Regions from separate parts of the Homo sapiens genome. Here region 2 is linked to region 1. The links are contacts of gene promoters, found by promoter capture Hi-C in blood cells and fetal thymus (Javierre and others, 2016). All regions are on one chromosome and are shown on one strand. The core of a region is centred on a gene start or on the middle of the fragment in contact, and the rest is flanking DNA. Distances in the headings are between cores, read along the strand shown. Region 1 holds the start of EIF2S3B (eukaryotic translation initiation factor 2 subunit gamma B). Region 2 holds the start of KLRK1-AS1 (KLRK1 antisense RNA 1).

Region 1 (5,438 bases), core at 1,017-3,516:
AATTCGAACCCATTCATTGCATCCTTTTCATGCAAAATTTCAAAGATAAAGCAACATAAAATATGGGGCCAAAGAAAAGGGAGAAGGTCTTCAAGGATAATTTGTGCCTTTAAGTTTTTACTGGTACAACAGTCCTTCAGCCTGGAGGTACTCAAAGACGAATCATGAAAAACAAAAAAAAACTTTATTTCGAACAGTTTCAGTGATATATGTGTGTGCTACAGCAAAGGCTGGTTGTGGCAAAGTTTCATTTCAAACTGCATGATGTGGGCTAGGCAAGGTGGCTCACGCCTGTAATCCCGGCACTTTGTGAGGCCGAGGTGGGCTGATCACCCTGAGGTCAGGAGAGACTGGCCTGGCCAACATGCCGAAACCCCGTCTCTACTAATACAAAAATTAGCCCCGTGTGGTGGCACACACCTGTAATCTCAGCTACTTGGGGGGCTGAGGCAGGAGAATCGCTTGAACCTGGGAGGCAGAGATTGCAGATCATGCCACTACATGCCAGCCTAGGTGACAAAGCCAGACTCAAAAACAAAACAAAATAAAACAAACAAAAAAACTGCATAATGTATAATTTTGACATTATGTGGGAATGCTTAACTTCTGCCAAAATGTAGATTCAATCCAACATTATGCCAATTTTTATACTAATTGTAGTCCCTAAGTTTTCATAACCAAAAAAAAAAAGAGAGAATAACCTTACCGTTACCTACTAAGGTAACAAACTGTGAAATCAATTCCCCAATATCGCTTTGAAAATAAACCCCTTGGTTGTTAAAGAGAAATTGCAACTTCCAGCTCCATCCGAATGTATTATTTAACCGGTATTCTTCAGTCATCATCTACTGTTGGCTTGATTGTCACTCCTCTTCTTATCTGACCCCAACCAATTAAACGCCAGTGTTTTTCAACTCTTCGGCTAAGGGCAATTTTTTCTCCTACCTCTGTGCACACTGGATTGGTCAAAACAATTTTGCCCAAATCGGCCTTGACAGCACTAACTCTCCCTCCTGTCGACAGGGATCCTATGTTCACCATGAGCACTTCATTCTTAGACAGCTTTTGAACCTTTGCTGCTTTCTTGTCTCCTTCAGTGCGTACACCTAGAAGCCGTCTAAGCAGGAAATAGGAAATTTCCAATTCTGTGAATATCTCAGGTAAAGCTCCGACTGCACCAAGTATTTGCCCCACCATTCTGTCAGCCCGGCACAAAGTGGGGTCAATTTTTGTTCCAACTCCAATAAGACCGCCTGGAGCAGCATATTGCAGATCATTATGCTCCGCAAAAAGTGAAACAATTTTGGAAAAGATTGATTTACACATGAGTTTTCCTTCACTATCTTTGGAAACAATACCAGGTCTTACTTCTGTCTCCTGGCCCACCTTTAATACTCCTTTTAGGATACTACCACCAGCTACACCTCCCTTAAGGTCATCAACTTCACAGCCAGGTTTGTTGACATCAAAAGATCTAATAACAATAAGCCGGGGCTCTGAAGTAAAGTCTCTTGGGGGTACTGGAATTTTCTTTACTATGTACTCACAAACAACTTCAATATTGTATTTCAGCTGAGCCGAAATTGGAATAATGGGAGCTCCCTCTGCTACTGTACCTTGGACAAACGCAAGGATCTGCTCGTATTGTTCTTTAGCCTGCCTTTCTTTTACCAAATCAATTTTATTTTGTAGAATCAAAATATGCTTCAGTTTCATGATCTCTATAGCAGCCAGGTGTTCAGATGTCTGAGGCTGAGGGCAAGATTCATTACCAGCTATCAACAGAAGAGCTGCATCCATCACTGCTGCACCGTTCAGCATAGTAGCCATCAAAATATCGTGGCCAGGACAGTCAACAAAGGAAACATGTCTGACTAATCTGAAGTTCCCTTTGGTTCCTGGAATGTCTGTAGGAAACTCATCAGGCATACTGCTCCCACAAGATCGATAACATTCTGGCCGAGGGCAACTTGGGTCATCAAGTTGATAAATCTTAGCATTAGCATATCCAAGCTTGATTGTAATATTTCTTTCTAGTTCATTTTTGAACCTGACGGTGTGAACTCCAGAAATAGCTTTGACGACTGTGGATTTCCCATGAGCTACATGACCAATTGTACCTATATTAATTGTGGCTTGTCTGCTGATAACTTCGTGTGAAAGTGGCGTCAACTTGGTAACATCCAAGGTGGTGAGATCCTGACGCGAAAGGTGCGGCTGCCCCAGAGTCACCCCAGCTTCTCCGCCCGCCATGTTGCCAAAAGAGGAAGAAAGTCACCCCGGCTGCCGCCTGATCGTCTGCAGGGGTCCTAGTGCGGGGCGGGGATGCGGAGGCCGGAAGGTCGACTAGGGTCTCAGGATGGCCGGTGCAGCAGCGGCCTCAGTGCTTGGACTTCTCTCTGCTTGAATCTGCACAGTGCCTGTCGGTAGGCTTACTGGAAAACACGGTGCAAAGTTGCTGGAGCTATTCGTCGCAGACTTGGTAGATATTTGTGCAGGCAATACTGAGGGCAGCCACCCAAACCCCCGCCCCCTGGGCCCATGCGAGGCGGGTCGAAAATATATTTTCAGTTGACCACAGATAAATACTTAAAAAATTAATGGACCATTGTAATCTATTTATATGAAAATGGATCTTGTATATACAGCCTGCTATTACATTTCTAAGAAGACACAAAACCAGCAACACACTGAATAATTCTACACTAAATATTTTTCTTCTTTAAGAAGATTAATTATTAATATATTTATTTTTTGTTCGAAACAAATAGCTATGTCGTGGTTTATATTATAATTTTCATTTCTTCAAATTATGTTGGAGTGATGACCATTAATAGATGCTATATTGGAGATTTATTACAATAGCTTTATTGAGGTATAGTTTATATACAAAAAAACTGTGCATTTTTAACGTATACAATTTGATGAGTTTGGACATATGCATACATTCGTAATACCATCACCCAATGAAGATAGTAGGCATGTTTATCATCTACAAAGTTTTTCTTGAGTACCTTTATTTTGGGAGCAGAGGGCAAGTAAGACACTTGACATGAGATCTACCCTCCTAGCAGATTTTAAAGTGATCAACGTATTGTTGCTAACTATACGTACTATGTGGTACAGTATATCTCTAGAACTTATTCGTCTTTCGTAACTGAAACTTAACCAATTGAAAGTGAGTCCCTGGTAACCACCATTCTCTGTTCCTATGAATTTGACTACTTTAGATAACTCATATAGTATAATCATAAAGCATTTGTTCTTCTGTGACTGGCTTATTTTATTTAGCTTAATGTCCTCAAGGGTCATTCATGTTGTCATGAATGGCAGAATATTCTTTCTTTAAGGCTGAAGAATATTCCATCATATGTACATACTACATTTTCTTTATCTGTTCATCTGTCAGTGTACATTTAGGTTGTTTAAATATTATTTATTCTTGATAATCCTACCATTGATGTGGGAGTGCAGATATCTCTTCAAGATACTAATTTTAATTCTTTTGGATATACTGTATACCCAGAAGTGATATTATTGGGTTATATGGGTAGTTTTACTCTTAATTTTTGAGGAAGCTCTATACACCTTTTTCATAGTGCATTCTTATCAACAATGTGCTAGGGTTCCAATTTCTTCACATTCTTACCAACATATATATATATATATATATATATATATATATATATATATATATATCTTCATATATATGTATATGGATATATTCGTTTTAAGGAAGAGGGTAATAAATGAAAGTGAGAGGATGGCTCATCTCCTTCTTCTGGGTATATATGAATGAATATATGGATATGTGAATGTATCCATATATATATATATATATATATATATGTAAAATAGTCATCCTAACAGGTGTTAGGTAGCATCTTAGAATATTTCCCTAATGATTAGTGATGTTGAGCATTTTTTTATATACCCACTGGCCACATGCATGTCTTTTGTGGAGAAATGTCTATTCAAGTCCTTCATCCATTTTTTAAAATTGGGCTATTTTTTGTTTTTGGTATTAAGTTGTAGAGGTTCCTTATATATTCTGGACATTAATACCTTAACAGATATGTTATTTGCAATGTTTTCTCAAATCTATAGGTTGCCTTTCACTCTGCTGTTTCCTTTGCTGTGCAGAACATTTTTAGTTTGATGTAGTCCCACTTTATATAATTTTGCTTTGGTTACTTATGCTTTTATGAAAATTTAATGTAATCAAATACATCTATAGATTCAAGGCAATTCTGTTCAAAATCACAATTGCACTTTTTTTTACAAAAATAGAAAAATATTCATTAAACTCATGTAGAACCACAAAAGACACTGAATAGCCAAAGCAATCTCCAGGAAGAAGAACAAGGTTAAACAAGGTTAAAGGCATCATACACCCTGAATTCAAAACTATTACAAAGCTACAGTAGTACTGGCATAATAACAGACATACAGATCAAGGGATCTTTGAGAAATGCAAATCAAAACCACAATGAGATACTGTCTCTCACCAGTCACTATGGTGATTCAAATTTGGCATTTTGATTAAAATGTGAAAGAATAAGAGATGCTGGTGAGGTTGCCAAGAAAAGGGACACTGATACACTGTTGGTGGAAATGTAAATTAGTTAAGACACTGTGGAAACCAGTTTGGAGATTTCTCAACGAACTTAAAAACACAACTACCATTCAGCCCAGTTATCCCATTACTGGGTATATACCCAAAGGAAAATAAATCATTCTACTAAAATACACTGGAATTTGTATGTTTATCACAGCATTATTCACAATAGTAAAGATATGGAATCAACCTAGGTGCCCATCAAAAGTGGATTGGATAAAGAAAATGTGGTACACATACACTCATGGAATACTATGAAGCCATAATAAAGAATAAAATGATGTCCTTCACAGCAACATGGATGCAGCTGGAGGCCATTATCCTAATCAAATTAACACAGGAACAGAACACCAAATACTTACATGTTCTCACTTATGAGTGGGAGCTGGACATTGAGTACACATGGACATAAAGATGAGAACAATAGACACTTGCAACTCCAAAAGGGGGGATGAAAGGAGGAGTGTAGGGGTTGAAACCCACCTATTGGGTACTATGCTCACTATGTGGTGATGGGGTCAAATGAAAACTAAACCTTGGCATCACGCAATATATTTATGTAAAAAATCTGCACATGTACCTCTTGATTCTAAAATAAAAATAAAAGATTGAGATAAAAAGAGATAAAGTGTATTTAGTACAGTCTATTAGGACATTCCTAGATTTAAATTGTTTCTATATAATATTTCTTATATGTAAACTGTTCCTCTATGTTTTCTTCTAGGAGTTTAAAAGTTTTAGTTCTTACATTTAAATCTTCAGTTGATTTTGATTTGATTTTGTGCCTGGTGTATGATGAATCCAACATCTACATATGGAT
Region 2 (5,438 bases), core at 2,082-4,581, 140 kb after region 1:
GCTTTCTTTCCCTCTGACTTCCTCTCCTAGTTTTTTTCTTTTCTGCTGGTCTTTCTTTTTTCTCCACCTGTAGCAGGATTGATAAGGAATCAGGAACACCAAGGGGTTGAGGAGGATTTTTATTATTTAGGTGCACTGGCCCAGTTGGATTAACATCCAAATGACTGAGCCCTGAACAAAGAGTCAAGTTATCTTTTAAGTATTTTGTCTGTGGGGGAAGATTTGTGCAGGGGGAAGCATATTACAGAAGCAAGAAACAAAGACAGTTATTCAATTGAGACATACATTACATTGTTTCTTACTTTTCAAGGAAAAGCATGTTTTATGACTTGAGTTTGTCTGTCTAGTGACCTTGCAGCTGCACAGCTAGAGAAACAGGGTCTTCACAATGCCTGGGAAAGGGAGAGATAAGGCTCACTAGCCACGGAAAAACAGGCAGTTAATTTTTAAAGGACTCCAGTTCTTTCTCTTCCTCAGGGGGAATTGGGTTTTCTTACATACAACTGAGTTTTTGCTTACACATTCTTTAATTTCTTTTAATTCCTGTTCCATTCCCCCCTTTGGTGCTTTTTATAACAAATGTGTTAACAGAAAGCACCACTATTTGCCACGTCTTCGTGGAGCTGAGCTGCTGCTTCTACCAGCAGCGACTGATATCTGGTTAATGCCATCATCTGCATGGTAGTGTATCAGGCCACTATTGCCTCCATAGTTGACTGAATACTTCTAATAAACAGGGGTAAAAGGCAAGGGAGGATGAGGCAGATGCCAAGAATAACCAAGAACCCACCAATGAGGCTTTTGAATCCTCTAAAGGCTGAGAACCATCCTCCAAACAAGGAATCCGGGGACCACCCAGACCAAGTCTGAACTGGAATATGGGCCAATGTGTGCATTCTAGCGGTGATTTCCATGACAGCTCAACCATTATCATCGATTTCTAGGCAACAGTTGGTTAAATTAAATTTTCCACATACTCCTCCTCCTGAGGCTAAGAGGTAATCTAAAGCCAATCTATTTTGATATATAGCATTCCTCATTTCTGTTGTTGTATTTTTTTCCATGTGAGTTCCTTGGTGGAACTCTTTTAAAAATCTGGGGGCCACCATTTCAGGTATGGCTAGCCTCCCATTGGATAATATTTACCATCTCCTTTTAATGTAGTTTTTATTTTTCTGGGCAAAATAAGCCCTTTCATTTGGAGTGTAGCTTGGGATATCCAGGAGAGGAATCTCTGGGAGGAGAGGCATAGCTAAGGCTTCCTCTTTAAAAGGTGGAGTTGTCATTGCAGCCTGCTTTGCCTCTTTGTCTGTTTTCTTATTTTATTTTATTTTTTTAGCCTTTAGTATTCTTCCTTTTTGGTGCCCCTTGCAGTACATCACTGCCACCTTTTGGGGCCTATACAGCATTTAAGAGCTCTAGAATTTCTTCCTTATACTTTATTTCTTTACTTTCAGCAGTTAAAATTATTTTTTCTTTGTAAATAGTCTCATGAACATGCAAAGTGGCAGAAACATATCTGGAATATGTGTAAATATTTGTCTTTTGGTCTTTGGCTAGCCAGAGAGCTCTTGTCAGAGCTATTAGTTCTGCTTTCTAAGCAGAAGTTTTTGTAGGCAAAGACTGCACCTCTACTACTGAATCCAAAGTCACCACTGCATACCCAGCTTGGCGGACTCCGTTTAGTATGAAACTGCTTCCATTAGTAAAATATTCAATGTCCAGGTCCCTGAGGGATGTATCTGTCAAATCTCTCTGGCTTAAGAACACTTCATCTATCACATTTACACAGCAACGAAGGGGGTCTCCTGGCACTGACTCGATGAGGAGCAAGGTAGCCGGGTTTAGGGTATTCACCATCTCTAAAGTCAGTTTATTAGCTTCTTGTGCCAGTAGGGCAGTAGCAGCTAGTGCTTTAAAACAAGGAGGCCATCCAAGTGCCACAGAATCTAACTGCCTGGATAAGTGTGTCACTGGGCAATGCCATGACCTTATGGCTTGAGTTAGAATCTTTATGGCCTCCCTTTCACTTGTGGACATTCAAGAAGATAAGCTTAGTTAGTTAGATCTGGCAGTCCTAAAGCTGGGATCTGAGTCAAGGCTTCTTTGATTTTTTGAAAAGCCTTCTTCTGGTTGGCCTCCTAGAGGAGGAGTCCTTCTTTCCTCCTCTTTGTGGCTTTGTATAATGGCTTAGCCACAAGCAAGAAATTTGGGATCTAAATGCGGAAGAACTTTGCTGCCCTTAGGAACTCTGTTATTCGACGCCAGGTGGTTGGAGTAGGAAGTGCACAAACAGCCTGCTTTTGTTCACTACTAAGCCATCTTTCCTCTTGGCTTATGTAAAAGCTTAAGTACTGGACACTTTTCGAGCAGATCTGAGCTTTTTTCTGACCCTTTATATCCTGCCTTTCACAGCAGTCTTGGGTTTCTCCTGGGTGCAGTAGCCCTTGGCCAGTGGTTTTTTCATACCATGGCCTTGACCATTCTCCTTATTCTTTTGACATTTATCCTTCTAGTGTCCTTTTCTTTTGCACCATGTACATTAATCTCTCTCTAGCCTTGGCTGGCTTTCAAATTGCTGTCCAGACTAGCCTTTTCCACAACTGCATTCACACCCGCATCTATGCCTCCTTGCAAAGCCAGCCTCTCTTCCCATAAGGGCTGCTGCTTGTAAATAAGCCTTTATTAAGCCTCCAATCAGCTTTCTTCTTTGCCTCCTGGTCTCAGTTAATGTACACCTTGGTAGCCACTTTAATAAGCTGAGTAGCATTCACACCTACGGAGCTTCTAACTTCTGCAATTTATGCCTGATATCTCCTTGGGCCTGCCTTACAAATGCCGTATTTACTATTCACTGATTTTCAGCAGCCTCGGGGTTAAACAGAGTGTACAAGCAAAATGCCTATAAAACTGGCTGGTGCTTTTATCTGCACCATGGAGCACTTCTGAGATTTTTTTATATTGGTTGCCTTTTCCTTTTAACATCCTTTAGCCTTTGTAAAAGTGCTTCTCGGCACTTTTGTAGGTGCTGAAGCTGGACTGCATCGTCTGGGTCCTAGTGGGGGTCTGCTTGTCCTCTTAAGAGGCAGAAGCATAACTTGGGCATGACTTGACCTGAGACGGCCTGCCTACCTTTTTGAGCCTTTCGTTTTAACTTCCTGGAGCTCCGATTTCTCCTTCTCAGGTGAGAGTGGGAGCATGTATCTGTTTGAACTTACCTCCTTAGGGGCAATTAGCCTTGGTAAGGGGGGATAGATTGGAATATAGGTAGGAAGGATCTCTATTCCATCCTGTGATTCTTGCAAAACTGGTTTTCTCTTTCCTGAGACTCTTTTTTTTTTTTGGTCTGCATAGCTTCCAGGGCAGCTGACTTTCACTTTCACTTTTGGATCGGTGGTGCTAGAAGCCTCTGTGACTTTCCCTTTAACTCCGTAGCTGCCAGCACAGTTGGTTTATCTCGGCGTGAGCTGCGAGCATTCTACAATAAACTGCTAGGCAGGGCTGCGTACATTTAGCCATGAGTCAATATAAAGACTAGGTCTGAATGCCCTGGCTGTCCTCCGACCCTAGTCACCACCTTAAAACACACGGCCAATTTCTCTACAGTGCCTTCGGCCAGCCATCTGACACTAAAAGAGGGCTATTGTAATTCACAGTATGTCTTTAACTTTTGAACATCCAGTTTCATCCCACAATCACCTCTAAATCCTTTCTTTAAAATTTTTATCATGCACTCCAAAGGAGTTGGTTTTGACGCTTTCCCTCCCATTTCCTCCCTTGCGGCACACTCTCACTCTCACTCTCACTTTCACTCTCAGGTCCAGCAGACCCGGTCCTATTACAGGAGTTTCGGACACTGCTTAGCCAGGAAGGTGTCTTCCCCTGTCACAGCCTGCTACAGCTGCAAAGCTCGTCCTATCAGCTGTATGCAATGTCCTAGGTCTGATTTCCCCCCACACTCGCCTCAGAGCACACAGCCCGTGCTAAGGGATCTGTGCCTCCCCACGTCACTCCCTGCATTGGCCTCTCCCGAGACCATCGCTTTCACACACTTTCACACACCTTCCTTGCCCCAGGATTCCTCATTGGACGAAATGAGCCTCTCTCATGTCCCGGGTGAGTCTAGTTAGGCTCCCACTTTCACACACATACACCACTCCTACTGCAGGAGTCCTCATCGGATGGAATGAGCCTCTCTCATGACCTGGGTGAGCCTAGTTAGGCTCCCATATTCACACACATACACACACCACTCCCAGTTCCTGTCTCCAGATCCAGTGAACCACTTTCACTTTGTTAGTGGGGACATAAGCTTCATCCAAATTGGCAGGCCACTCCTGCTGCCCCCAGCCACTCTGGGTTGGATTAGTGGTCAGTCCCTGGGAGGTGATCAAGCTCCCCTTTGTCCCTATGGGACGGGCTTTCCTGCCTTGGGCCTATACTCCTTACCACAGTTCCTGAAGTGCTGGTATCGTCCTGCAGCCCCATCCTCGGTTCCATTGCGCTGCCAGGCAGGGTGCTGGGACGTGGGGAGAGCTGGTCTATATATCCGGGTGAAGCTCAGCTGTGGCACACCTTGGATGCCGGGTCTCTCCTGGCCCCGGGGACCTAGTATCGCAGGCAAAGGGGACAGTAAATCTGTCATCTCCAATCCTGATGAGCCCCCAGAAATGTATCGGGATATATAAGGAATCAGAGAGACCAAGGGATTGAGGAGGATATTTATTATTTAGGTGCACTGGTCCACTTGGATTAACATCCAAAGGACTGAGCCCCAAACAAAGAGTCAAGTTACCTTTTAAGCATTTCGTGGGTGGGGGAAGATTTGTGCAGGGGGAAGCGTATAACAGAAGCAAGAAACAAAGACAGTTATTCAATTGAGACATACATGACATCATTTCTTTTCAAGGAAAAACATGTTTTATGACTTGAGTTTATCTGTCTAGTGACCTTGCAGCTGCACAGCTAGAGAAATAGGGTCTTCATAATGCCTGGGAAAGGGAGAGATAAGGCTCACTAGCCACAGAAAACAGGCAGTTAATTTTTAAAGGACTCCGGCTCTTTCTCTTCCTCAGGGGGGAATTGGGTTTTCTTATATACAACTGAGTTTTTGCTTACACATTCTGTAATTTATTTTAATTCCTGTTCCATGCCAGCCACCTATGCTGCTGTTTTCCCCCTCCTTCCCCTTTCCCTAGGGAAGGGACTGGTGGCAGTGGGGCTATTCTTTCTTCCCCCAAGAAGAAAGGAAAGGGGGGTTCTGAATATTTTTCTTACTACTGGGAGTTTGTGTGAGGTTCAACGCCCCCCTCCCATGGGGATTCCTCACCTCTTTCTGAGGTTCAACCCGCCTCATGGGGATTTCTCACCTCTTTCTGAGGTTCAACACCCCTTCTATGGGGATTTCTCACCTATTTTTAACCTCCAAGACATCCCGA

The links. The method cuts DNA at HindIII sites, captures the fragments that hold promoters and counts their contacts. A CHiCAGO score of 5 or more calls a contact.
Region 2: a fragment that was not itself captured here is called in contact with the fragment with the promoter of EIF2S3B in region 1 in 1 of 17 cell types (total CD8 T cells); the score reaches 6.0 in total CD8 T cells.

What each region holds. Positions count from the first base shown.
Region 1 is chr12:10,502,718-10,508,155 of GRCh38, reverse strand. EIF2S3B (eukaryotic translation initiation factor 2 subunit gamma B) reads right to left here and starts at 2,266. Exons shown (of 1, transcript NM_001357734.3): 1 at 1-2,266. The coding sequence starts at 2,253. The coding sequence ends at 835. The region is part of intron 3 of LOC105369657 (a long non-coding RNA gene); the gene reads left to right. The HindIII fragment of the contact is 5,298 bases long and covers 2,016-5,438 here.
Region 2 is chr12:10,363,045-10,368,482 of GRCh38, reverse strand. It overlaps KLRK1-AS1 (KLRK1 antisense RNA 1), which reads right to left and starts at 4,714. Exons shown (of 4, transcript NR_120430.1): 1 at 4,450-4,714. RefSeq lists enhancers at 3,664-3,733, 4,194-4,243. The HindIII fragment of the contact is 1,966 bases long and covers 2,349-4,314 here.